5 separate regions of the Homo sapiens genome follow, and regions 2, 3, 4 and 5 are each linked to region 1. Evidence: promoter capture Hi-C in 16 types of primary human blood cells and fetal thymus (Javierre and others, 2016). All regions are on one chromosome and are shown on one strand. The core of a region is centred on a gene start or on the middle of the fragment in contact, and the rest is flanking DNA. Distances in the headings are between cores, read along the strand shown. Region 1 overlaps HAX1 (HCLS1 associated protein X-1). Region 2 holds the start of SLC27A3 (solute carrier family 27 member 3). Region 3 holds the start of GATAD2B (GATA zinc finger domain containing 2B). Region 4 holds the start of DENND4B (DENN domain containing 4B). Region 5 holds the start of CREB3L4 (cAMP responsive element binding protein 3 like 4).

Region 1 (4,996 bases), core at 812-3,311:
GTCTGACTTTGATTAAAAAAAAAAAAAAAAAAAAAGAACTGTCAGCCATTGTATTAATGTTTTGATGTGGCAGCCAGTCCTCCGACCCTCTCCCTAGCTTCCCAGACCCCTTGCTCTTGTCCCACTTTGCCACCCATGAGTTGATTTAATGGCTTAAATAGTGCTGAAATATTGGTGGCCAATCTGCCTCCACTCTCAGCCACAGAGATCCCTTTTTTGGAGGGATGACTCGAGATGAAGATGATGATGAGGAAGAAGAAGAAGAAGGGGGCTCATGGGGCCGTGGGAACCCAAGGTTCCATAGTCCTCAGCACCCCCCTGAGGAATTTGGCTTCGGCTTCAGCTTCAGCCCAGGAGGAGGGATACGTTTCCACGATAACTTCGGCTTTGATGACCTAGTACGAGATTTCAATAGCATCTTCAGCGATATGGGGGCCTGGACCTTGCCTTCCCATCCTCCTGGTGTGTGGCTTTCCCTAAGGGGCAACCTGTGGTTTCTGGTGGGTTGGTGGGTGAAATAAAGAGCCTGCAGGGAGTAGCTGGGGGATGGGAAGTGTGAGAAGACTGATGATTTCAGAGAGATTAATAGAGCCCAAGTCCTTTCCCATCCCAGCAAACACCTGCCACCTTTCTGCAGAACTTCCAGGTCCTGAGTCAGAGACACCTGGTGAGAGACTACGGGAGGGACAGACACTTCGGGACTCAATGCTTAAGTATCCAGATAGTCACCAGCCCAGGATCTTTGGGGGGGTCTTGGAGAGTGATGCAAGAAGTGAATCCCCCCAACCAGCACCAGACTGGGGCTCCCAGAGGCCATTTCATAGGGTGAGTATCCCATCTGGTCCTGAAGTGAGAGCTTGTGAGAGACCACTAATAAAGTGCAAAGACTGGCTAGGTGCGGTGGCTCACGCCTGTAATCCCAGCACTTTGGGAGGCCGAGGTGGGCAGATCACCAGAGGTCAGGAGTTGGAGACCAGCCTGGTCAACATGGTGAAACCCCGTGTCTACTAAAAATACAAAAAATTAGCCGGGCATGGTGGCAGGTGCCTGTAATGCCAGCTACTCAGGAGGCTGAGGCAGGAGAATTGGTTGAACCCAGGAGGTGGAGACTCCATCTCAAAAATTGTTTGAGACCCAGCCTTGCTCTGTTGCCCAGGCTGTAGTGCCGTGGCACAATCTCAGCTCACTGCAACCTCCAATTCCCAGGTTCAAGTGATTCTCCTGCCTCAGCCTCCTGAGTAGCTGGGATTACAGTCGCCTGCCAAACGCCCAGCTAATTTTTGTGTTTTTAGTAGAGATGGCGTTTCACCGTGTTGGCCAGGCTGCTTTTGAGCTCCTGACCTCAGGTGATCCACCCACCTCGGCCTCCCAAAGTGCTGGAATTACAAGTGTGAGCCATCATGCCTGGCCAAAGATTGCAATTCTTGTTTGAATCTGATAGCCTTGGGTTGGAATCCTAAGCCCTCCATTTAGTGTTTTCTGTTTTCTATATTAAGCTTGTGGGATTTTCTTTGGGGGGAGATGGGTGTTCTGTTTCTTTTAAAAAACAAAAACAAAAAAACACCACTGGTCTAGATAATTCTTGGATAAGGCAGGATTGTGCACAGAGGATAGGAATATATCAGTTCAGGAAGTCTTTCTGGTAGAAGGATACATAAAACAGCCAGGAAGGAGTGTGTAAATAAGGCTATTCTGAATGGAATTATCTCTTCTGTGGAAGGGGGTTTTGGAGCTCGGGAGTAGTTTGAGGTCTATGACCTTTCAAATTTCAGATTGGAAGGAGTCTTTTCACTTACTATGGTTTCTTCTGCAGTTTGATGATGTATGGCCTATGGACCCCCATCCTAGAACCAGAGAGGACAATGGTAAGTCTGGAGGAAGGGGAAGTTTACCAGCCTTTTGTTATTCTTCTGAAGTTCTGTGTGTTCTCCCTCCCTGAAGTTTCTTCCTGTACACTTGTCTCCTTTTTTCCTTTGGACTCTTTCTCTCCTGCTTCTTCATCTCTCTGCTCTTCCAGATCTTGATTCCCAGGTTTCCCAGGAGGGTCTTGGCCCGGTTCTACAGCCCCAGCCCAAATCCTATTTCAAGAGCATCTCTGTGACCAAGATCACTAAACCAGATGGGGTGAGTTGAAAGAAAGAGGTAAAGGAAAGTATGGCCAGGGAACGAATGCCCTGAAACAGGGATCTGTGTAAAGAAACTGCTGAGCATAACCTTTAGTAACATTCGGAATATGGTGGGGACTTCTCTTTGTAGATAGTGGAGGAGCGCCGGACTGTGGTGGACAGTGAGGGCCGGACAGAGACTACAGTAACCCGACACGAAGCAGATAGCAGTCCTAGGGGTGGTAAGTTAAAAGACAAAGGGGTTCATCTCAAGATTCCTTGGGGAAGGGAAATCTTACTCTTCTACCCTTGTCCTTTGCTTCTGCCTAGTCTCTTTCATTTAGCCTATTTACGTGTATGACTTTCTTCCTTAGATCCAGAATCACCAAGACCTCCAGCCCTGGATGATGCCTTTTCCATCCTGGACTTATTCCTGGGACGTTGGTTCCGGTCCCGGTAGCCTTGTTAACCCTCAGAGGCCTTCAAGTCCTTTCCACCTCTCACCCATTGCCCACCATTAATAAGCTTAGCTTCTCTTGCCACCTCAGGGGCTTGGATATGTGGAATAGTGAACTGGGGCCATGTCAGTTTGTCACTCACCCAAACTGACCAATAAAACCTTTATTTATGCTAATTTTTTGTCTTGGTTTTGTCAAGGCTATTTCAGTTTCTAGAACCATCCAACACTTCCGAAATTATCTTGGTCCTCTGCCTTCTCCTTATTCCTTAATTTTTTATTCTGCATCTAAAACCTGATTTCATAAGTAAGGGTCAGGCACAAGTAGAAAATGATTTTTCTTTCTCAAGCAAGAAAAAAAAAAAAAGAGGCCGGGCTCGTTGGCTCATGCCTGTAATCCCAGCACTTTGGGAGGCTGAGACAGGCAGATAACCTGAGGTCAGGAGTTCAAGACCAGCCTGGCCAATGTGGTGAAACTCTGTCTCTACTAAAAATACAAAAATTAGCTGGGCATGGTGGCGGGTGCCTGTAATCCCAGGCTAGGGCAGGAGAATCGCTTGAACCTGGTAGGAGGAGGTTGCAATGAGCCGAGATCACGCCATTGCACTCCAGCGTGGGCGACAAGAGTGAAACTCCATCTCAAAAAAAAAAAAAAAAAAAAAAAAGAAAAGAAAAGAAAAAGAAAAATGATTTTTCTTACTGAGGAGATGACTAGAAATAATTTCAGGAAAATTTCTAGAGAGGGATACATCAGATTCCCAAAAAAAGGGTGTGGGTGTGGAAGTAGGGGTTAACTGCTTCCCTGAGTGTGGGATCACTGACTGGAGAGTTCATGAAGTAACTGGGGAAGCACATGGGTAAATTTCCCTTACTTTACTGGCCTTAAAAAGTTGTTATGTGGCTGGGTGTGGTGGCTCACGCCTGTAATCCCAGCACTTTGGGAGGCCGAGGCAGATGGATCACATGAAGTCAGGAGTTCGAGATTAGCCTGACCAATACGGTGAAACCCTGTCTCTACTAAAAATACAAAAATTAGCCAGATGTGGTGGCACATGTTTGTAATCCCAGCTACTTGGGAGGCTGAGGTAGGAGAATTGCTGGAACTCAGGAGGTGGAGGTTGCAGTGAGCCATGATCATGCCATTGCACTCCAGCTTGAGCAACAAGAACGAAATTCCATCTCAAAAAATTGTTATGTATGTTAGAGAAAATACACCTGGCACAAACGTTACTAGGTCCTTTTTTCTTTTTGAGGCAGGGTCTCATTCTGTCACACAGGCTGGAGTGTAGGGGGCGATGTTGGCCCACTGTAGCCTCGACCTGGGCTCAGTCCTCCCACCTCAGCCTCCTGAGTAGCTGGGACTACAGGCGTACACCACCATGCCTAGCTAATTTTTTTTCTCGTTTTTTTTCCTTTTATTATTATTATTATTTTGTATTTTTTGTAGAGACGGAGTTTTGCCATGTTGCCCAGGCTTCCTTTTCTCATTATAAAAGTTTTTAACCAGGTGTGTTAGACTGTACCTATCATCCTAGCTACTTGGGAGGCTGAGATAGGAGGATTACTTGAGCCCAGGAGGCGGAGGCAACATAGCAAGATCCTATTTCTAAAATATATATATATATATATATATATTTTTTTTTTTTTTTTTTTTTTTGAGATGGACTCTCGCTTTGTCACCCAGGCTGGAGTGCAGTGGCGCAATCTCGGCTCACTGCAACCTCTGCCTCCCGCGTTCAAGTGATTCTCCTGCCTCAGCCTCCCGAGTAGCTGGGACTACAGGCACGTGCTACCACGCCCAGCTAATTTTTGTATTTTTAGTAGAGACAGGGTTTCACCATGTTGGCCAAGCTGGTCTCGATCTCTTGACCTTGTGATCCGCCTGCCTCAGCCTCCCAAAGTGCTGGGATTACAGGCGTAAGCCACCACGCCCCGCAAAATATTTTTTAAAAATTGGCTGAGCAGGCTGGGCATCGTTGCTCACACCTATAATCCCAGCACTTTGGGAGGCTGAGGCGGGTGGATCACTTGAGGTCAGGAGTTCAAGCAGGCTGGGCACTGTGGTTCACACTTGTAATCCCAACACTTTGGGAGGCCAAGGTGGGCAGATCACTTGACGTCAGGAGTTCGAGACCAGCCTGGCCAACATGGTGAAACCCCAACTCTACTAAAAATACAAAAATCAGCTGGGTGTGGTAGTGCACACTTGTAATCCCAGCTACTTAGGAGGCTGAGGCGGGAGGATCATTTGAACCCAGGGGGTGGAAGTTGCAGTGAGCTGAGATTGTGCTGCTGCACTCCAGCCTGGTTGACAGAGCGAGACTCCATCTCAAAAAACATAAATAAATAAATTAGCTGAGCATGGTGGCCCACATCTGTAGTCTCAGCTATTCAGGAGGCTAAAACAGGAGGATCCCTGGAGGCTGGAGTTCGA
Region 2 (4,996 bases), core at 1,161-3,660, 500 kb before region 1:
AGCAGCTCTGTCCAGCCCTCGAAGTCGAAAGAATGCCACACAGCCCCCCAATGCCGAAGAAGAGTCGGGCTCCAGCAGTGCTTCAGTGAGAACCCAGCCAGTGCACAGGGGGAAAAGGAGCACTGGGTGCAGGTGGAGTCGGCGCCAGCAGCTGCCCAGGCTGTTAACTTCCCATTTCCCCTCCCATCTCTTCCAGGAAGAGGAAGACACGAAACCGAAGCCTACCAAGCGGAAACGAAAAGGGTCCTCTGCAGTGGGCTCTGACAGTGACTGAGGCCCTGCATTCCCCATCCCACCCCCGGCTGGACTGCCCTCTCCTTCTTGGTGATTCAAAGGTTAATAGAGGCTGAGGAGATTGCAGGGGAAACACCCTTGCTGCATCCCCAAGCTCCCCCGGTGGAAGGAGGAGCTTTCTCCTCTGGCTGAGTTTGAGAAGCTGCCATGCAGCCCCTAGCCCCTTCCCTCCTCCTGGGGCCTCCAGCCCCTCACACTGCTGTTCCCAGTGATATTTGGGATCTGACTGAAGCCAGAGGCTCTGTAAAATCAGACCATAGTGGAAGTCCTCAGCCCCCTGGCCCCTTCCGCAATCTCCTCCCCCAGTCTCCCAAAGAGCCATTTCAACAGAGAAGGGAAATGACAAAGGGGCAGCTGGCCAGATAAGCTAGGATGAGAGCAGAGACTCAGTGTGTGGGTGTCCCTTCCTGCTTCCCCTTCAGGTCTTGGTTTGTTCTGAAGGGACGTTTTATAGTCACTATCCACATGCCAGTGTGAAATGGGCATCTATGACGTGGTCAGGGTGTCCATTCCTAATCATGGGGCAGATGCCACAAGCATTCAGAAAGGAGTCTGAAAGGGTGGCCACAGCCCCACGTGGTGTGCCCTGGAGGCTTAGGTTGGTCTGAGGTTGGCACCTCAATCTACACCAGAGCCCAGGGAGTCCCAGAGGCAAGTTTCACAGAATTGTCAAATGATCCCATTTCCTTGAGTCTGTTTTTTTTTTTGTTTTTTTTTGTTTTTTTTTTGGCAGAGATAATCGTGTCTTAAAAGTTGTTTTTAAATGACAATAAAACAAGCCAGAATGTCTTTTGTGCTGGAGTGTCTGCTGGCATTTGCCCCGTGCATGTATAGCTTGGTCTTGATTTGATTGGCACCCCTACTTGTAACCGCAGAACATCCCCCTTTCCCTTCCTGTTCTGCCCCCACTTTTGTCTAGAGCAGAAGGGACTTGGCTTTGGCCACTACCCATCCTTCCTGCTGCCACTGGAGGTGGGAGCCAGGCACTGATCTGTCTATGCAGAACCATCCCCCGTAGGATGAGGCCTGTCCTTACTCATTTCTCAAGAAACAAGATGCTTCCAAAAGGTCTGTCATCCTCCAGTTGAAGTCTGTGTGCCTACCAAGAATGGCCGGAGGACTCGCTGCTTGACGGGAGGGATGCTCCAGCTTGGTCTCCAGGGACAACTGTACCTGGAGATAAAGTCTGGATACCAGGGAGGGACAGAGATGCTCTTCCTTCCACAGTGTGGCCACTTGCTGGGCCATGTGAACCAGCAGAGGAGAGTTCCTTGGCTATGCTGTTGTTCCCCCGCTGTCCAGGGAGAATGGAGGTGGACTGAGGAGTGAAGTTTGGGCGAACTGCACAGAGCTGCTCCTCTTCACCCCGAAAATTTGTCTTTTTACAGAATCCAGGTTCTCCCCTCCCTCATCACTGCTGTTGCTTCCTTTGAAAGTCTAAACCACTGGAGGCTTCTTTTTCCTTCCTCTCTCCTTCCCCAGTTTCCTCTGTCCCAATTAAAACCAGGATGGAGAGCATTTGCTGGCTGGCCCCAATTATTGTACCCTTGCCCAAAGGGAGGGGCCTCTGTCGTGACCCCTCAGAAATCTGGCAGTCTGGGTTTCCACCTTTCCCCTATTTAACTCTCAGCCCCCACCCATCCCCTGGGGTTGCGGCTGGCAGGCCGGGACTTGCAGAACCAAATGGGCCAGGGGCCAAGTTCATTCTTTTGGGAGAGAGCAATGGTACCTTCCCTTAACGGGAAAACGAGAAATATTGAGGGGAAGATGGACTGCGATCCAAACGCCCTGGCTCTCAGGCCTGGACTCTAGGGCTTAGCCAGATGCCTAAACCGCCCAAGCCGAGAAACAACTTAGAAGACAGACATAACCCTGGGATTCAGGGAAGGCGCGAGCACCGCCCAGGACCTGGTAGGGTGCGAGCCGCGAGCAGTCCGGGAGGGAGCGCGCCTAGGGCGGAGCGTAGGCTGTGGGGGGAGGGCTGGGAGTCCGGGGCCGCCCCACACCCGCACTCCTCCCGGGTTTCTGCTCTCCGCCCGTGTGGAGTGGTGGGGGCCTGGGTGGGAATGGGCGTGTGCCAGCGCACGCGCGCTCCCTGGAAGGAGAAGTCTCAGCTAGAACGAGCGGCCCTAGGTTTTCGGAAGGGAGGATCAGGGATGTTTGCGAGCGGCTGGAACCAGACGGTGCCGATAGAGGAAGCGGGCTCCATGGCTGCCCTCCTGCTGCTGCCCCTGCTGCTGTTGCTACCGCTGCTGCTGCTGAAGCTACACCTCTGGCCGCAGTTGCGCTGGCTTCCGGCGGACTTGGCCTTTGCGGTGCGAGCTCTGTGCTGCAAAAGGGCTCTTCGAGCTCGCGCCCTGGCCGCGGCTGCCGCCGACCCGGAAGGTCCCGAGGGGGGCTGCAGCCTGGCCTGGCGCCTCGCGGAACTGGCCCAGCAGCGCGCCGCGCACACCTTTCTCATTCACGGCTCGCGGCGCTTTAGCTACTCAGAGGCGGAGCGCGAGAGTAACAGGGCTGCACGCGCCTTCCTACGTGCGCTAGGCTGGGACTGGGGACCCGACGGCGGCGACAGCGGCGAGGGGAGCGCTGGAGAAGGCGAGCGGGCAGCGCCGGGAGCCGGAGATGCAGCGGCCGGAAGCGGCGCGGAGTTTGCCGGAGGGGACGGTGCCGCCAGAGGTGGAGGAGCCGCCGCCCCTCTGTCACCTGGAGCAACTGTGGCGCTGCTCCTCCCCGCTGGCCCAGAGTTTCTGTGGCTCTGGTTCGGGCTGGCCAAGGCCGGCCTGCGCACTGCCTTTGTGCCCACCGCCCTGCGCCGGGGCCCCCTGCTGCACTGCCTCCGCAGCTGCGGCGCGCGCGCGCTGGTGCTGGCGCCAGGTAAGGCTGGAGCTCCGAACTGACTAAGGCGGGGCCAGCCACAGAAGGGGGCGTGTCGGAGACCACAGAAAGGCTTGGTCTCATCCCTGGGCCTGGGAAGAAGCCGACTATCCCTTGGGGTTCGAAAGTGGGTGGAGATAGGAGTCTCCGGGTTTGAGAAGGGATGAGGCTGAATCTTTGGTGCCCCAAGGATCCCCAAGGAGTCGAGTTCCAGGCCTCAGACCCAAGATGGAATGTCCATACCCTTCACCCTCATCCAAGAGCAGTGTGGGCTGGGATAGGGAGGGGACATGGGTCATAGGCTCTTCTAGGTAGAGCCAGGGCCCCGGCGTTGTGCTTTCCCACCCTTCTAGAGTTTCTGGAGTCCCTGGAGCCGGACCTGCCCGCCCTGAGAGCCATGGGGCTCCACCTGTGGGCTGCAGGCCCAGGAACCCACCCTGCTGGAATTAGCGATTTGCTGGCTGAAGTGTCCGCTGAAGTGGATGGGCCAGTGCCAGGATACCTCTCTTCCCCCCAGAGCATAACAGACACGTGCCTGTACATCTTCACCTCTGGCACCACGGGTGAGGGCCGGGCACCATACTTAGCTCCCCGAAACCAAGGCAGAGGAAGGCAGGGGTCTGCTCCCAGACCACTCCTTCAAAGCCCCCAGAGAGGATGCTGATTTCATTGGCACATCCTTTTTCTCCCCATCATTTCACTCCCCAGTCTCCTCACCTCCTACTCATTTCTCCACCTCCCCCAGACCACCCATATTTCCAGGACAGCCTGGTCTCGGTCCTCAGCTTCTGTCCTGCCTCCGCCTCTTTCTGTGGGAAACCCAGCGGGGGTGCAAACAGATAGGTAGAGCTTGGAGTTTGCCCTTCCCCTGATCGTCCCATAACTGCCACCCCACAGGCCTCCCCAAGGCTGCTCGGATCAGTCATCTGAAGATCCTGCAATGCCAGGGCTTCTATCAGCTGTGTGGTGTCCACCAGGAAGATGTGATCTACCTCGCCCTCCCACTCTACCACATGTCCGGTTCCCTGCTGGGCATCGTGGGCTGCATGGGCATTGGTCAGTCTCCCCAACCCCACCTTCATTAATTCATCCAGTAGACATTTATTAAGCACGTACTATGGTGTGAGTCCTCCAGGGTAGATAATCTAGAGGACGGATGGGGCAGAGCCCTACTCACCAGGAGCTCTGTACAATAGGGCAATGTCACCTGCCTAGACCTACAGACTGAGGAACGGTGAGGGGGGCCATACAGCCACATAACTCCAGGCTGCAGGGTCAAAGGCAGGGAAGGACTGTGTCAGTCCAGGAACAGGCAAGTAAGAGAAGAGGGAGAGAGAGACAAGGAAGTGAGAGTGTGGAGGATGAGATCTTTGGGGCTGGGAAGTAGGGAAAGGGCATTCACCTCTTCTAAGGCTGGGGACAGGGGCCGGGGGAGGGGAAAGAGGGCCAGCACGGCTTCCTGACGGTGTGACTCCCACAGTGGGCCCTTCCCAGGGAAAGACTACAGTGATGGCTGGGGTCTGGAAAGAGGGGCTTGGGCTCCCCACTCTGCTCCTAATCTTACCTCCCTTCTTCCCCCCTGCCCACTTCTGGCAGGGGCCACAGTGGTGCTGAAATCCAAGTTCTCGGCTGGTCAGTTCTGGGAAGATTGCCAGCAGCACAGGGTGACGGTGTTCCAGTACATTGGGGAGCTGTGCCGATACCTTGTCAACCAGCCCCCGGTGCGTGGGCACAGATCCTGGGCAGAGCTGCTGACACAGGGCTAGCTCACGGGGAGCAGGACAGTTGACAGGAGACAGGGAGTTGGAGGGAGAAGCAGCAAGAAGAA
Region 3 (4,996 bases), core at 898-3,397, 350 kb before region 1:
ATCACTGCCACTGGACTAAAAAAACTCTATTCCCCTAAAAAGTGAAGACAGCCTTACCATCAACTAGTTATTCATATAAGCTATCTGCTTATATGAATCCGATCCTTGACCCAGTCCATTCCCAAATGGCCAGGGACTAGATATCCGTCACAAAAAAAGCAGCACGATCCAACAAGTGTGGGCCTTCCCTCAAAATATACTGAACTCCTCCATAGCACCTCCAGAAGTGGCCTCCTTCCCAACTAAGTACTGACAGAAATACTACTCTAGGACAATACTTGAAAGGCTGCTCCAGCACCAAAATAAGAATCCAAGTTATCAGACTGCAAGGAAGAGTTCAGGTCAGCATACCAAATGAAAAGCAATAAAGTTAGCACTAAACTCCCAAACAGGATAATCACCAACAACATATAGGCACCATGCTGCTGCCAGAAAACATCAAAGTCATCTGTGCTAGGAGGGGAAGGAGACTAGATGGCTGGAGGACAGAGATGGGAAGGAAGCTTACTTTTCACTTTGTACAACCACATGCATGCTTTTCTACTCAAAATATAAATTTTTAGAAAAAATGTCCTAAAAACTACAAAAGCATCAGCTCTTCTCCAACACAGATCTGTTAAACCTGTTTTAATTCCATCAGCTACAAATCCAAATCCCTCTTTTGCAGTCTGGCCTGAAAACACTGCTCTTGCCCTTTGCTGAAATATATTAAGTATCCTTCGCCTCTGCTGAAATGTATTAAGTATCCCCCCATCTCTCTCTCTCTCTTACACACACACACACGCACACACACACGCCCCCCAAATAAGCATTTATCAGAAATGAGAAAACTGGTTCTCAGGAGGCTACCTGATTTTCCAGGGGACAACAGAGAAAAGGTTGCTAGCTAGCTCAGTTAGCATCCACATGCCACCCACCACCAAGCCTCCATCTCCACCTCACTGCCAGCCCTATGAGCTAACATCTTGTGTTTGGAAGTTGATGCTGGGGAAGAATCCAAAGAGGCTACCATACCTTTATGAAACGGGAAAGCTGTACCGGGCGCGCGAATGGCACCTGAACCTCTGCACTCGCATGAGTGGCTCGCTCCTCAATGTAATTGAGAGCAGGGAGGCCAAAAGTACTCTAAGTCCCGGTGTGGTTAGGGAAGGGTAAGTTCCACCGACCCTCAGGAACTGAACTGGAAGACAGATCCAGTGTGTCCCACAAGCCCAGTCGCTGTAGAAGCTAAGTGCCCACATAGCCTGAGACAATTCTCTTCCCCTACGGGAGGGCGAGCGAACGGTGGACGACGAAATAAAGGGGTAAGGTTATGCGCTCCTGATCCCTTTCCCTAAATAAAGATAATTATCTGGTGCTTCCTTTACCCTTAGATTCCCCATTCGTCCCATCCGCCCGCAAACACAAGACTGAGCAGGGAGCGGCCCCCGCACCCTGAGGGCACCACTGGGGGTGGAGAGAGTTAAAAAAAAAAAGGGGGGGGCGCGCTAGAGAGGAAAGGAGGGGAGCATGGCGGGCATGAGGCAGGGAGTGAAAGCGGGGATGGCGGGGGAAACGGGGCGTGAGGGAGGGGAGAAAGAGTACAAGGAGACGAAATGAAGGGACACGAGCTGGGGGCGCGCGAGGCCGAAGTGAAAGACCGGGTCGCGCGCGCCAAGGGGGGAGAGGATGAGGTGAAGAAGGAGCGCGAGGCGGGGGCGCGCCGTGCCGGGGTGGGGGGAGGGGGACGCAAGGCGGGGGCGCGCGGGCGGGCGTCGGCTCGCGGGCGCTTCCCCTCCCCCCGCCCCTCCACCTTTCCCTTCCCCCACCTCCGCCACCACTGCCTCCTCCCAGCCTCCTTCCCTTCCTCGCTCCTCACCGCCCCCGGGCGGGCGGGCGGCCAGGCTGGCCTAGGCCAAAGCTCCTCACCTGGCGGTGGCGGTGTAACTCCCGGCTAGCTCGCCTCCTCAGGCGGCGGCGGAGGCGTCGAAAAAGGAAGAGGCGACGGCACAGGGGATCCAGACCCTGCTGACGGGACTAGGGACGGGGGTAGGGGAGGGGGGCGGGCCGGACCGGGGCGGGCGGGCGGAGCAGACACTGCGGTACAGACGGGGGCAGCGGCGGCGGCGACGGCTGCACCGGCGGCGGCGGCACCACACAAACAAGGACGCTGATTGGGCAGCTGCCAAGCGCCTCGGCTCCGCCTTACCCACACGCCACGACGCCCATTGGGCGACCTAAGCCGGCCACCCCGCCCTCATCTTCTCGGCCATGCCAGTAGAAGACTAGATGCCGGGACTTCACCCCACCCTTGAAGAATGAGTGGCCGGAGAAGTGATGATTGGCGTGCTTAAAACCCAATCATAAACGGAGGAGGGGGGATGGTCTAGCGGGGGCGCGTTAATGGGTACCTCTGCCAGTCCCAGACACATCCGGGTCTTCGACAGCCCATTAAGTGTCGGGGGTCAAAAAATCGCTTCAGGCTGCAACTTTACCTTAGAGACGTTTTGGTCCCCAGGCAGCCGCCGTACCCCAGTCTCTCCAAACCGGGATTCCCCTTTGGCCATCTCTCATTCTTTCAATTCTAAAGATGGAGACTGGCGAACGGCGATGGGGTCTGCGGTGGGCGGTGTTTCGTCGCGACAGACTCTAGGAAATTTCACGATAGAACTAGCTTTAGGCGCTTGAGCCTTGCCGTCTTTTTGGGGTGTGGCCTGTCTCCGTCTGCCAAAGGCTTTGAGCTTCCTGGTGTTCATCGTACCTCCGCTTGGTCCTGTCGTGACTAAACCACGACAGCAGGAAAAAAAAAAAAGCAGCTAGCCAAGTTGCTGAGGAATTACGGTGTGCAGAGCCCTCGCAGCTCCTTCTCTTGGGAACTCCTGGTCTGGTTAGGTTCTCAGCGAGGAAACAGCCTCCCACCCCGCCCGATTCCACCTAATTAACTCAAGGGCCAGCTCCTTTTGCTGGCCTCCCTGCTTCCACGGAGCAGTTAGGCCCGCCTAAACTCAGCGAGCGTTTCTGGAGCACCTTGAGGATAGGGACCAAGTAACAGAGTCCGGGTGTTAAGGTTATGATAGTAGTTAACGTTTTTGGAAAGAGACTGTGTCAGGCTCTGTGCTAAGAACTTTACATGAAGTATTTATTCCTCATGACTGTGAGGTAGGTACTGTTATCCCTACTTTACAAATGAGGAAAATTAGGATCAAAAAATTTGTCCAGTTACACGTTAAGTGGTAGAGCTGAAATTTGAACCCAAGTAGATGAGGAAACTAAGGCTCAGAGAGGTTAAGTAACTTGCCAAAGGTCAGACCGCTAGTTAGTGACTAAGCAGTGGTTTAAACCCAGAAACAACTGGTTCCACAGGCATTTTGTTATTGTTGTTTTCTCACTGTGTCTCCCAGGCTGGAGTGCAGTGGTACAATCTCAGTTCCTGCAACCTCCGCCTCCCAGGTTCAAACGATCCTCCTGCCTCAACAGCCTCCCGAGTAGCTGGGATTACAGGCGCGCGGCTAATTTTTGTGTTTTTAGTAGAGACGGGGTTTCGCCATGTTGGCCAGGCTGGTCTCGAACTCCTGACCTCAGGTGATCCTCCTGCCTCAGCCTCCCAAAGTGCTGGGATTACAGGTGTGTGAGCCACCACGCCAGCCTCCACAGGTATTTGAACATGTTTTTTAAATTATTTAAAAGTCATGCTGTGCAATGGAAATGAAATTATAATGGAGGACATGGCAACTTAAAGCCGTAGGTAGATCCTACACAAACACAGACGCACCCATTTTTTTTTTCTTTTTTTTCTTTGAGACAGTCTCCCTCTGTCGCCCAGGCTGGAGTGCAGTGGCGTGATCTCAGCTGCCTGCAATCTCCACCACCCAGGCTCAAGCCATCTTTCCACCTCAGCCTCCCAAGTAGCTGGCATTACAGGCGCACGTGACCACGCCCGGCTGATTTTTGTATTTTTGGTAAAGACAGGGTTTCACTATGTTTCCCAGGCTGGTCTCATAAATTCCTGGCCTCAAGTGATCCACCCGCCTTGGCGTCCCAAAGTGGTGGGATTACAGGCGTGAACAACCGCGCCCACCGCAGCCCCCACTTTATTTATTTTTTAAATTAGCGATGAGGTCTTGCTATGTTACCCAGGCTGCTCTGAAACTCCTGGGCTCAAGAGATCCTCCCGGCCGGGCGCGGTGGCTCAGGCCTGTAATCCCAGCACTTCGGGAGGCCGAGGCAGGTAGATCACGAGGTCAGGAGATCGAGACCATCCTGGCTAACACAGTGAAACCCCGTCTCTACTAAAAATACAAAAAAGTAGCCGGTCGTGGTGGCGGGCGCCTGTAGTCCCAGCTACTCGGGAGGCTGAGGCAGGAGAATGGCGTGAACCCGGGAGGTGGAGTTTGCAGTGAGCCAAGATCTTGCCACTGCATTCCAGCCTGGGCGACAGAGCGAGACTCTGTCTCAAAAAAAAAAAAAAAAAAGAGATCCTCCCACTTCAGCCTCCCAAATAGCTGGGACTACAGGTGTACATCACTGCAAGCAGCATTCAACTTTTTTTTTTTTTTTTTTTTTTTTGAGACAGAGTCTCCCTCTATTGCCCAGGCTAAAGTGCAGTGGCGCAATCTCGGCTCACTACAACCTCCGCCTCCTGGGTTCAAGCAATTCTCCTGCCTCAGCCTCCTGAGTAGCTGGGATTACAGGTGCCCGCCACCACACCCAGCTAAATTTTGTATTTTTAGTAGAGATGTTGGCCAGGCTGGTATCAAACTCCTGACCTCAAGTGATCTACCCGCTTTGGCCTCCCAAAGTGCTGGGATTTACAGGTGTGAGCCACCACGCCTGGCCTAATTCTTATTTTAAATAGATTAAAACTTGTTTTTATGCTAGTATGGTGTCCAGGTAAAGAATATGGTCTCAAGAGTCAGATTGCCTGAGTTTGGATCTTGGCTCTCCCTCTTACCAGTTGTGTGATTTGGCTGAAAGTTACTTATCTCTATTCTCTATCCCCTAGTTTCCCCATCTATAA
Region 4 (4,996 bases), core at 907-3,406, 330 kb before region 1:
CAGCTTCTTAAAGAGACCAGATCCCTCCCACTTAATGGTCCTGGCACTCCCCTCAAAGAACCTAAACTCCACCACACACAGCTAACCTGAGCTATGACATTCACATTGTCCATGTGTCCCTTTTAAAGGCTCACCAGTTATAACATCACAGAGATCACAATCTTTTTTGTAATAGCCTTCCATGACATCATTCATGCTGGCCATGACATCATACCAACCTTACAGTCTTTTCAAGGGTTTCTGACCTTCCTACTCTAGTTATGACACCATAAGAACCTTGTGATCCTGCCAATGTTCTTAAAGAGCCCACTCCTAGGTTTTTAAGAGGACCCCATGGGTTTCTGAGAAAGCCCACAAAACCCAAGCTTTAAGAGTCTTTTCAACGAACCCAAGTGTCCTTTCTCCTAGCTTAACTCCACCAATCTGGCCCAAAATCCAGTGTTCTCACACCTCCAGGATCCTTAGGTAGCTCGTTAGATCCAAAGCAGTTGTGAGAGACAAGTCCCGGCCATCCCACACCCTCCACCATGGAGCCCAGAGACAGAAACAGGCCCACAACAGCCTAGTTCTCACCTGCCTCCATGGCCCAACCCCGGGGAGTAGGAGCCCCAAGGGTCCTGAGGCGCCCCAGGGTGCAGAAGCTGGGAAAAAGCCTGGTGGGTAGCTCGCAGCAGGGGCCCAGAAGCGTGGGGGGTGCTTCAGAGGGGAAGGGAGGTTACTTCCTGAAACAGTGGAGGGGAAGCTGCAACTCAGAGGAAGTCAGCCTATGGGTGTGTGTGGTGGCGGTGGCGGTGGTGGGGTTACCATTGAAGGTGCCAGCACAGCATTACGCCAAGTTGGAATCTCAGACTATAGGATCCTGAGCAAGGCAGAGGAGGCTCAGAATGGTTCCAGGATGTGCAGTCCTGCTAACCTCCTGCTGTTCCCCCAGAGAACAGGGAATAAGGAATCTCATAGAGCCAGGCTGGCTTTCTTCATCACCTGGCCTCTGGACACACACACACACACACACACGCACACACACACGCACACACGTACACACACCAACCCCAGCTAAATTTAGACTCCACTTCTGGGAGGTAAAGCCAGGAGTCAGCGTCAGCCTCTTGATTTAATTCTGGGGCACAGACCTGTCCCTCATCCACTGAGGGCGAATGGGAGCCCTATGCCCAAGGCAGCAGGCAGAGGCCATTAGGTGGGACCTTCTGAGGGGCAAGTGGGTGGCACCCATCCGCAGGACCTGCGCACCGGGGCCTCCCCTCACCAAGCCAGGGAAGAGTCCTGCAGAAAGCAGCCCTTTCTCCCTAGGGAAGACAACGGGCACAGGGCCCACTCCGGGTCCCCACGCCCGCGTGCCGGGTGACGGGAAGTTCGGGTTGGGGCAGAGGGCGCGCCGAGGGGGAGGAGGCTGAGGAAGGAGCAGGAGGGCAGAGAAGCAGGCGCGCCGGCGGCCGAGGACGTGACGGCAGCAGCGCCGGCCGCCGCGTGACCCAAGCGGGAGGGAGGGCGGCTCCGACTCCGGCACCCACGGGAGCAGAAGGGGGTGCAGGAGGCCGGGCACGGCGAGCTAATTGCGGGAGGTGCCCTCCCCTCCACTTTCACTTCCCCAGGAGAGAGGAACCGGAACCAGATGTGCAGTGAGGGACAGCAGCTGGGGGCCATCCCCCACCCCGCCTGCCGCCCGCGCTCCCTCCTGCCCGTCCCCGCCTGCCGCCCAGCCCGGTCCAGCCCCTACCTGCCTGTCCCGCGCTTCCCGGCCGGCCGGCCCGCTGGCGGGTGGCTCGGAGGGCGAGCTGGCGGGCCGGCGGGCGGCGGGGCTACCCGGCCCCAGACATGGCGCACCCGACTTGGGCGCCGCTCCCGCCCGGGCAGTGAGTGAAGGAAGAAGAGGCGGCCGAGGACCGCAGAGCGCGGGGCGCAGTGGAAGGAGATCCGGGCGGTCCCCGCGTCCCCGCCGCGCTGCGCCACGCGGGGACTGTGCTGCCGCGCTGCTCGCTCGGCCGGCTCGGTCCTCCCAGCTCCCGCGGCGCCGGGGACCCAGCGTTCCTCCGCGCGCCCCGCTTTCTCTACTCCCCCAACCCCCGCTCCGGGCCGCGGGCGCCGCCGCTACCCCCACCCCTCCTCCTCGGCCGGCGGCCGTGACCCTGGCAAGCGTCTGCCCAAAGCCCAGCCGCCTGCAGCCCGACCCCTGGCGGCTGGGAGGGCCCCCTGCACCCAGGTAGCTTCCCACCATCCAGCCCGTGCCTCAGGACACTGACCCCAGGCGACCCAGAGGGCCGCGGCGCGCTCCCTTCCCGCCTGGGTCCTGCAGTCAGATGTGGCAAGCATGATGTGGGCGCAGGTGAAGTCCCGAAGGTCTAGTCTACGGGGACCCAGGTGGCTCCCCCTACTTCCAGGTTTAGGGCACAGGGCATTCCCTTTGGACCAGAACCAGAAGCTCTCAGTTCTCTTTTTTGAAAATGACAAGAGCTTTGGAAAGAGGAAGAGAGGCCAGGACTGCAGGGTGTGGAATAGAGCAGTGGAGGTGGGGGTAAGGTAACTGCGGGGCTCTACTTTTCTCACTATGCGGGTTGGGGGAGTGAGGGGTGCAGAGGCCCACACGGCTGGTCCAAGGGCTGGCAACCCAATCCAGAAAGAGAAAACCTTCAGAACATGCATGGCACTGAAGGATCTGTTTAATTAAAACTAAAATGAATGAGTGGTGAAGAGTGGAGAGGGTGAAGTGAATGCATGCATAGTGAGGGAGTGAGGATGAAGGCTTGCTTCCCTGAGACCTAGGAGCACTTCAGACCTGTGGGCTCAGCCAGCAATCACCTCCTTACCCGACTCACTGCCAGACCTAGGGTTGAGGAAGAGGAATAACTTGTCTGATCAGTCAAAGCCCCCATCTGATGCTGCAGCAGGGCCCTGGACAGACAGGAGGGCACATGAAGTGATTTCCTGCTGCCGTGGAAGCCTACATCCAGCTGGGTACAAATTCCGAGGCTGTGGGGCCCTTCCACAAAGCACAGTGGTGCTAAGAAGATGCAAAAAGCCTAATAGATAAAAAGACCCATGGCCCTATAACTCCCTAGATCCCCAGCCATGCCCCAAATAACTAACCACACCAAGGGTTTGATATGATTTTTTTATTAACATATAATAATATATTTAATAAAAAATAGTATCCACTCTGGCTCTCTCCTCCACTGCAAGGGGAAGAGTGGTGAGGAGGGGCTGGCACTGCCCACCCCTAGGCATCCGGAAAAGCCCTGCTTCCAGGGCTCCCCTCTACCCCTGCTTTCCAACAGGCTCTGACCTCCAGACAGACGGTTCAAAGTTACAAGTGCTTTAGGCCCTCCCTTGAGTTCCCCCAGGCCCATCCCTTGCGCAGAATTCAGGGGCCACCTGGACAAACCCCTTGCTTTTTCTCATTCTTGGCATCCTTCATTCATGCTAGAAAGAGGATCTGGGGACAGAGAGTAGAGTCTCTACCTGCCAGGGGGAAGGGAGGAAAGGAATGGTGGTGGGGGATGGGGCCAAGAAGAGGGATGGTGATGAGGTGCCCTCATTGGAGCCGGTCACTGCGGAATGACTCCTCCACAGCAGGATCAGGCAGCAGGGCACAGGGGTCACTCAGCATGTTTAGCCCTTCCAGGCCCAGTGGCTCCATGCGCAGCTCATCTTCTAGCCCAAGCCCTAGCTCCAATCCAGCTGCTGACACCTCAAAGCCAGGCACTCCGGCCAGGGCTGCTGCAATCTCCTTAGAGAAACCTGGAGAGGAGTCCCCTGTGGGTAGAAGAGACAGGTGAGGACCCCATGTCCTGTAAACTTTTCCAAGACCCCTCAATCTCCTACTCATTAGTGAATGTGTCACTTCCTCCTTCCATTTCCCATCACCACCCACCCCCATTCACCTGTGAGGATGATGTTAGGCCCTGAGCCATGGCGGGAACAGTGGGTCAAGTTCTGGTGGTTGAAGGTGTGGGGATCCTGGGGGCCACCCATTGGCCCCTCACCCCCTAAAAATCCAGGCCCTTCAGAAAAGCCAGGGGGATCCAGCACCAGGCTGGCTGATGGGCTCTCCATGCTGAACTGCTCCAGCTATAGACATACAGACAAATCTTTAGGAAGTAGGATTTAGAACTGGTGTCCTGCCTAGCCCTGCTAACATATCCCCTTTGCCCAGCAACCTTCATCCACCCCAGGAACAGAGGCAATGACAGAGGGAGGTGGCAGCAAGCAGAGCGACAGAAGCGAGCACGGGGCCCGAAGTAAGTATGGGCACCGTACCTGCTGGGCCAGAGCATGTGCATGCCAGGAAGAGAACGGGTCAAGGCAGAAGTCATCAAAGAGCAAGCTGAGCAGAAATAGAGGGGCAGGAGTAGGGTCAAACGCAGGAAGAGAGGAGCCCCAAGCTGGCAGTGCTATGTTACCTCCGGGGAGAGGAGATCTCCCCACCACCCACCCCACCTAGATCTCCCCATTCACAGTGCACCAGCCATGCCATTCAGGCCCCATTGACCCACCCTCACCCACTCCCCTGCTTTTGAGCAAGGAGCCTGAGTACTCACATTCCCCAGGTTGAAGTCACTCATTGGCCGGTGGTAAGACTGTTGCCCATGCCCACTGGGCCCAGGTGGGTACGGTGTCCCATAATGAGACTGCCTGCCTGGGGGCTGCCCACCTGAGGACTGCACTGAACAAGACTGAGAGGGCAGCCCTGGCTGCTGTAGAGACTTTGGGGTGTGGGGCTGGGTAGGCAGAACCAGACTTGGGGAGCTGTATGGGTATGGGGGTAACCGCTGGTCAGTGGACAGTTTACTGGTATCCAGGGGGACGCCCTGAAAAGAAGTAAAAAGAGGGAAGCTTACTGCTCAGTGTATACCCCAAGAACTCTCAGTCAGAGCTTCCCACCTTCTTTAGCTACAACCATTCCCAAAACAAACATGACAACATTCCACATTCTCACGGGCATCCCTGGGGTTGAGTGCAGTTACTCAACCCCAGGGATGTG
Region 5 (4,996 bases), core at 2,497-4,996, 310 kb before region 1:
GTGGTGGGACCGGAATGCGGGGTGCTGAAGCCGCGCCCAGGGAAGAGCCCCCAGCGCATTCCAGGATATCTGCGTACCGCGCCTGCGGGCGTCTGGCCGGTTCTCCCACCTGATTTCCAGCCCAGCTCCCGCCACCCTCGCCGGTCGGTTTGCTGTTTGCTGTTCCTTGAATGCCCCAAGGTAGTTGTTTCAGCTCAGGACTTTCACCGTTTCCTCAACCTGGATTCTTGTGGCCCACAACTCTGTGCCTTGAGAATCCTCTTCTAGCCTCAAGGGACGGTAAGACAAAAGAAAATTTAAAAAGGGGGCTCAGCTGTTCTTTTATGCAAAGGTGAAAAAAGCTTCATTGCCTAAAGAAGGGACAGATGGGATCTTGCTTCCTACAGGAAAATTAATTTTAAAAAAGAAAAAAAAAAGGGGGGACAGTGTAATGCTTCTCACAAGGCTCCAGAAACGAAGCCCAGTAATTCCTTAAGTAAAAGAGGAATGTGAAGACTTCTTAAGGGGCCGGGCGCGGTGGTTCACGCCTGTAATCCAAGCACTTTGGAAGGCCGAGGATGAATCACCTGAGGACAGAAGTTCAAGACCAGCCTGGTCAACATGGTGAAACCCCGTCTCTACTAAATATACAAAAATTAGCCGGGCGTGGTGGCGGGGGCCTGTAATCCCAGCTACTCGGGAGGCCGAGGCAGGAGAATCGCTTGAACCCGGGAGCCGGAAATTGCAGTGAGCCGAGATCGCGCCATTGCGCTCCAGCCTGGGCAACAACAGCGAAACTTCGTCTCAAAAAAAAAAATTATTCGTAATTGGTAACATTAACAAGGAATTATGACTGGGGGGGTCAGGAAACCTGGATTCTGGTCCAAGTTCTACCTTTATAGTTGTCAAATATATATATTTGTTTATTTATACACATACATATGTCATATATGATTAATAATTGTATATATTTATGGTGTACAACATGATGTTTTGAAATATATGTACATTGGGCCGGGCGCGGTGGCTCACGCCTGTAATCCCAGCACTTTGGGAAGCCGAGGCGGGCAGATGACGAGGTCAGGAGTTGGAGACCAGCCTGCTCAACATGGTGAAACCCTGTCTCTACTAAAAATACAAAAATTAGCCAGGCGTGGTGGCGCATGCCTATGATCCCAGCTACTCAGGAGGCTGAGGCAGGAGAATCGCTTGAACCGGGGAGGCGGAGGTTGCAGTGAGCCAAGATCACACCTCTGCACTCCAGCCTGGACGACACAGCGAGACTCCGTCTCAAAAAAAAAGAAAAAAGAAAAGAAATATATGTACATTGCAGAATGGGTAAATCAAGCTAATTAACATATGCATTACTTCACATATTTATTTGTGATGAGAACATTTAAAATCTCTTGGCAACTTTATTTCTTTTCTTTTTCCTTCCTTCCTTCCTTTCTTCTTTCCTCCTTTCTTTCTTGACAGAGTCTTGCTGTGTTGCCCAGGCTGGAATGCAGTGGCATGCTCTTGGCTCACTACAACTTCTGCCTCCCAGGTTTCAAGCAATTCTCCCGCCTCGGCCTCCCGAGTAGCTGGGATTACAGGCGCCCGCCACCACGCCCGGCTAATTTTTGTATTTTTAGTAGAGACGGGATTTCACCATGTTGACCAGGCTGGTCTTGAACTCCTGACCTCAGGTGATCCACCCGCTTCAGCCTCCCAAAGTGCTGGGACTGCAGGTGTGAGCCACCACACCCGGCCCAATAGATCTCCTCAATTTTACCTTACCTTGATGTATGATTTTAGGCAAGTCAGTTTTCCTCACCAGAGTTTGATAAATCAGGGGCAAGGAGGAAGTTAAACAAGCAGATGACTGCAGAGGGTCCTTCCAGTTCTAACATCAACGGAAGCTAACTACATTCCCCACTCAAATCATCTCTGCACATACAGCCCGCAGGAAGCCCTTTGAAATGTATTTAACCACCTTTCTCGCTCTCAGAATGATCTCAACAAGAACAGCTTTGCTTTCCTTGGAGCTCTGCATCAATCTAGGAAGGCTGCTTTGTCTCTTCACTACTTGAGCAGGATGGAGAGATATGAGCGGGAAAGACAGATAAGAAATCTGAGAAAGCCCCACAAGGTGGGTTGATAGTGTGAAGAACATGGGCTGAAGCATCCAAATCTTGGTTCAGCTACTTACAGGGTAACCTTGAGAAAGTTACTTAAACTTGTCAGCTCGGACGGGCGTGGTGGCTCACGCCTGTAATCCCAGCACATTGGGAGGCCGAGGTGGACGGATCACGAGGTCAGATCGAGACCACCCTGGCTAACACGGTGAAACCCTGTCTCTACTAAAAATACAAAAAAATTAGCTGGGCGCCTGTAGTCCCAGCTACTAGGGAGGCTGAGGCAGGAGAATGGCGTGAACCCGGGAGGCGGAGCTTGCAGTGAGCCGAGATCGAGCCTCTGCACTCCAGCCTGGGCCACAGAGCAAAAGAAAAACAAACAAACAAACTTGTCAGCTCCATCTGCTGTAAGAATTATATGAGTAACATGGAAATGCCTGACTAGACCCTGTTCCCGTTTTTACCCTTAGCCCGTTCAAATCTTCATAAGGATAATTAGTAGCAGTTTGAGTTCTGGGATTCACACTCCAAACTACTGTTTTACTCACCCAGCTACCCTTTTCTGAAATACTACTGAAAACCATACCTGTATCAGTTTACCTCCATTGTTTTACTTGAAGTGAATTCCTGGACCATCAGACATTAGACCAAGGCAAAAAAATAAAAATAATCAATCAACCCTGAGTTTTGGTATTACTACTTTCTAGTCATGGATCTGCCTCCTCATAGGTAAAATTTGCAAAATATTACCCGCCGTGTGTGCCTCAGAACTGTTATGGATTAAGGAAGAGAACAATTTTTATGAAAACGTTTTGTAAATTATACAAGTGTGGGACATAATGTTCCCGGTAACTGTATGCAAACAATAAGACAACAAACGCAAAAGGCTTTTTAACTTGTTGCAGTTTTCCTGCCCCGTGTCCCTCCGTGAATGAGCAGCGTGCAGCGAGCGTGTGCGCACAGCTGCTGTTCTCCATTAACGCCACACTGCTCGGCTTGCGGACGGGGAAACCCGCCATCGCGCTCCTGCCGCCTGCCGAGCGAGGATCACCGCTCCACTGGGGTCAGCGGGCTGTTGACTCCCCGCCTGGGTGAAACCGGAGCTTCCGAGTCACGTGGCGCGCGAAGACAAACCTGGCTGCTCAGGGTTTCCCGGAGCTTTCTCCCAGCTTCCCGGCGATTCATATTCTGGCGCTTACCCCTCCCTTTAGGCTGGCGGAACCCAATCCCCGCCTGACAAATAAGTCCCGCCGGCCGGACGCAGTGGCTCGCGCCTGTGGTCCTAGCTGCTCGCGGTGCTGAGGCGGGAGAATCACCTGAGCCCGGGAGGTCGGGGGCTGCATGGAACCGTGATCGCACCACCGCACTCCAGCCTGGGCAACAGAGCGAGACCCTGTCTCCAAAAATAAGAATAAAGAAAAAAAAAAGAAAGAACTGCGGCCCCATTGGCCTGACTCTCCTGAACAGCCAAACTGTCTCCGACCAGTTACGGAAGAGGCGGCCTTGAGAGGGTAGTGTGCCATTGGCTCGATGTCCTGCCCCTCCGAAACCTAAGTCTTCAGCTTCCAATCAGGACTCAGCTTTGGGAAGAGCGCCACGCGGTGGGCGAGGGGATGCCCTAGTAAATTCGCAGGTCTCTTGACTCTTTCCGCCTTTGTTTACAACCCTGCCATGATCTCCCTCTTGCAAAAGCGAGGGCTACAGAACAGGCATTCAGGAGTCCTGTGCTCCAGTCACAGCCTTTTCTGTTCTTCAGCTAGGAGACACCAAACCCTCAGGAAGATTTACTATAGCTAAGAGAAAACTGCAGCAGAAAGGGCGCGGCTACCTACTTCTTAAATTCCGTTTGTGGACCCTCAGACTCTTAGTCCCCTACTCCCAGATACAGCGGCCCTACCGTGGCTCCTGGCAAGGTGGCATCCACTTTTGTAGTGTAAGGCTGGGGGCGGGGTTTGGCTGGCAGGTCCAGGATACGAGATCCTGGAAGAAAGAAAAGGTGTAGTGTTTGGGGAGGTCAACGGGCTATGCTGGCTTGACAGGGCTGGGCTCTTCAGAACAGGTAATGCTTGGGGGGGGCCTCTTTGTCTAAACCTGAGGGATAGGGCTGAAGGTGAAATATCGAGGGGACAGGTGAGGGGGCTTGCTAGTGAGGAAGGAGTGGGGGGGCGGGGATAATGGAAAAGGGAGCAGAGGAGCCCAGAAACTGTAGGGGGTAGTAAGCAGCCATCATTCCGTTTCTGCAACCCTCCGTCCCACACGCCTTCCTGCAGAAGCATGGATCTCGGAATCCCTGACCTGCTGGACGCGTGGCTGGAGCCCCCAGAGGATATCTTCTCGACAGGATCCGTCCTGGAGCTGGGACTCCACTGCCCCCCTCCAGAGGTTCCGGTAACTAGGCTACAGGAACAGGGACTGCAAGGCTGGAAGTCCGGTGGGGACCGTGGCTGTGTGAGTGTGACGAGTGGGAGTGGGGGTGGGGTTGAGACACAACTCTGTGATAAGAGGCTTCAGCTCCCACTTGGAGACAGGTCTGAAAACAGACCACCCCCAAAATAGACGTAAGTTGTATAATAACTGTCTCCATGCCCAAGAAGTGAAAGGACTGAAAATGAAGCATAAGTCAGGGAGGACTTCCAAAATTCTTCCCTGCACATATATATAACCTTTTCCTACTGTAGGGCCTTCAAGAGAGTGAGCCTGAAGATTTCTTGAAGCTTTTCATTGATCCCAATGAGGTGTACTGCTCAGAAGCATCTCCTGGCAGTGACAGTGGCATCTCTGAGGACCCCTGCCATCCAGACAGTCCCCCTGCCCCCAGGGCAACCAGTTCTCCTATGCTCTATGAGGTTGTCTATGAGGCAGGGGCCCTGGAGAGGATGCAGGGGGAAACTGGGCCAAAT

The links. Contacts are between HindIII fragments. The CHiCAGO score rates a contact against its expected background, and 5 or more counts as called.
Region 2: a contact is called between the fragment with the promoter of SLC27A3 here and a fragment that was not itself captured in region 1, in 2 of 17 cell types (naive B cells and non-activated CD4 T cells). The highest score is 6.0, in naive B cells.
Region 3: the fragment with the promoter of GATAD2B here is called in contact with a fragment that was not itself captured in region 1 in 5 of 17 cell types (fetal thymus, total B cells, total CD4 T cells and 2 more); the score reaches 6.6 in fetal thymus.
Region 4: a contact is called between the fragment with the promoter of DENND4B here and a fragment that was not itself captured in region 1, in 7 of 17 cell types (total B cells, total CD8 T cells, naive CD8 T cells and 4 more). The highest score is 7.0, in total B cells.
Region 5: the fragment with the promoter of CREB3L4 here is called in contact with a fragment that was not itself captured in region 1 in 2 of 17 cell types (naive CD8 T cells and fetal thymus); the score reaches 6.1 in naive CD8 T cells.

Annotation. Positions count from the first base shown.
Region 1 is chr1:154,273,137-154,278,132 of GRCh38, forward strand. It overlaps HAX1 (HCLS1 associated protein X-1), which reads left to right. Exons shown (of 7, transcript NM_006118.4): 2 at 200-462; 3 at 638-825; 4 at 1,814-1,865; 5 at 2,018-2,124; 6 at 2,257-2,347; 7 at 2,480-2,739. The coding sequence ends at 2,565. Among named protein-coding and RNA genes, the nearest start is that of HAX1, 3.0 kb to the left of the region's middle. The HindIII fragment of the contact is 1,134 bases long and covers 1,495-2,628 here.
Region 2 is chr1:153,772,997-153,777,992 of GRCh38, forward strand. It overlaps SLC27A3 (solute carrier family 27 member 3), which reads left to right and starts at 2,411. Exons shown (of 10, transcript NM_024330.4): 1 at 2,411-3,168; 2 at 3,522-3,731; 3 at 4,066-4,224; 4 at 4,765-4,889. The coding sequence starts at 2,502. INTS3 (integrator complex subunit 3) reads left to right here. Exons shown (of 30, transcript NM_023015.5): 29 at 1-85; 30 at 197-1,812. The coding sequence ends at 274. RefSeq lists an enhancer at 2,812-3,478 and a silencer at 2,847-3,038. The HindIII fragment of the contact is 7,576 bases long and covers 1-4,996 here.
Region 3 is chr1:153,920,825-153,925,820 of GRCh38, forward strand. GATAD2B (GATA zinc finger domain containing 2B) reads right to left here and starts at 2,148. Exons shown (of 11, transcript NM_020699.4): 1 at 1,909-2,148. LOC101928059 (a long non-coding RNA gene) reads left to right here and starts at 2,549. Exons shown (of 4, transcript XR_922160.3): 1 at 2,549-3,138. RefSeq lists silencers at 1,932-2,251, 2,929-3,223, 4,282-4,455 and an enhancer at 2,382-2,621. The HindIII fragment of the contact is 8,959 bases long and covers 502-4,996 here.
Region 4 is chr1:153,944,562-153,949,557 of GRCh38, forward strand. It overlaps DENND4B (DENN domain containing 4B), which reads right to left and starts at 2,157. Exons shown (of 28, transcript NM_014856.3): 1 at 1,740-2,157. It overlaps CRTC2 (CREB regulated transcription coactivator 2), which reads right to left. Exons shown (of 14, transcript NM_181715.3): 12 at 4,554-4,823; 13 at 3,897-4,083; 14 at 3,114-3,768. The coding sequence ends at 3,548. RefSeq lists enhancers at 409-508, 829-878, 1,347-1,847, 2,659-2,728 and a silencer at 1,369-2,268. The HindIII fragment of the contact is 4,483 bases long and covers 364-4,846 here.
Region 5 is chr1:153,964,156-153,969,151 of GRCh38, forward strand. It overlaps CREB3L4 (cAMP responsive element binding protein 3 like 4), which reads left to right and starts at 3,747. Exons shown (of 10, transcript NM_001255978.2): 1 at 3,747-4,009; 2 at 4,367-4,544; 3 at 4,775-4,996. The coding sequence starts at 4,371. It also overlaps a transcript of SLC39A1 not described here. RefSeq lists enhancers at 1-169, 3,033-3,889, 3,324-3,543, 3,754-3,863, 3,894-4,013 and a silencer at 3,504-4,005. The HindIII fragment of the contact is 4,469 bases long and covers 340-4,808 here.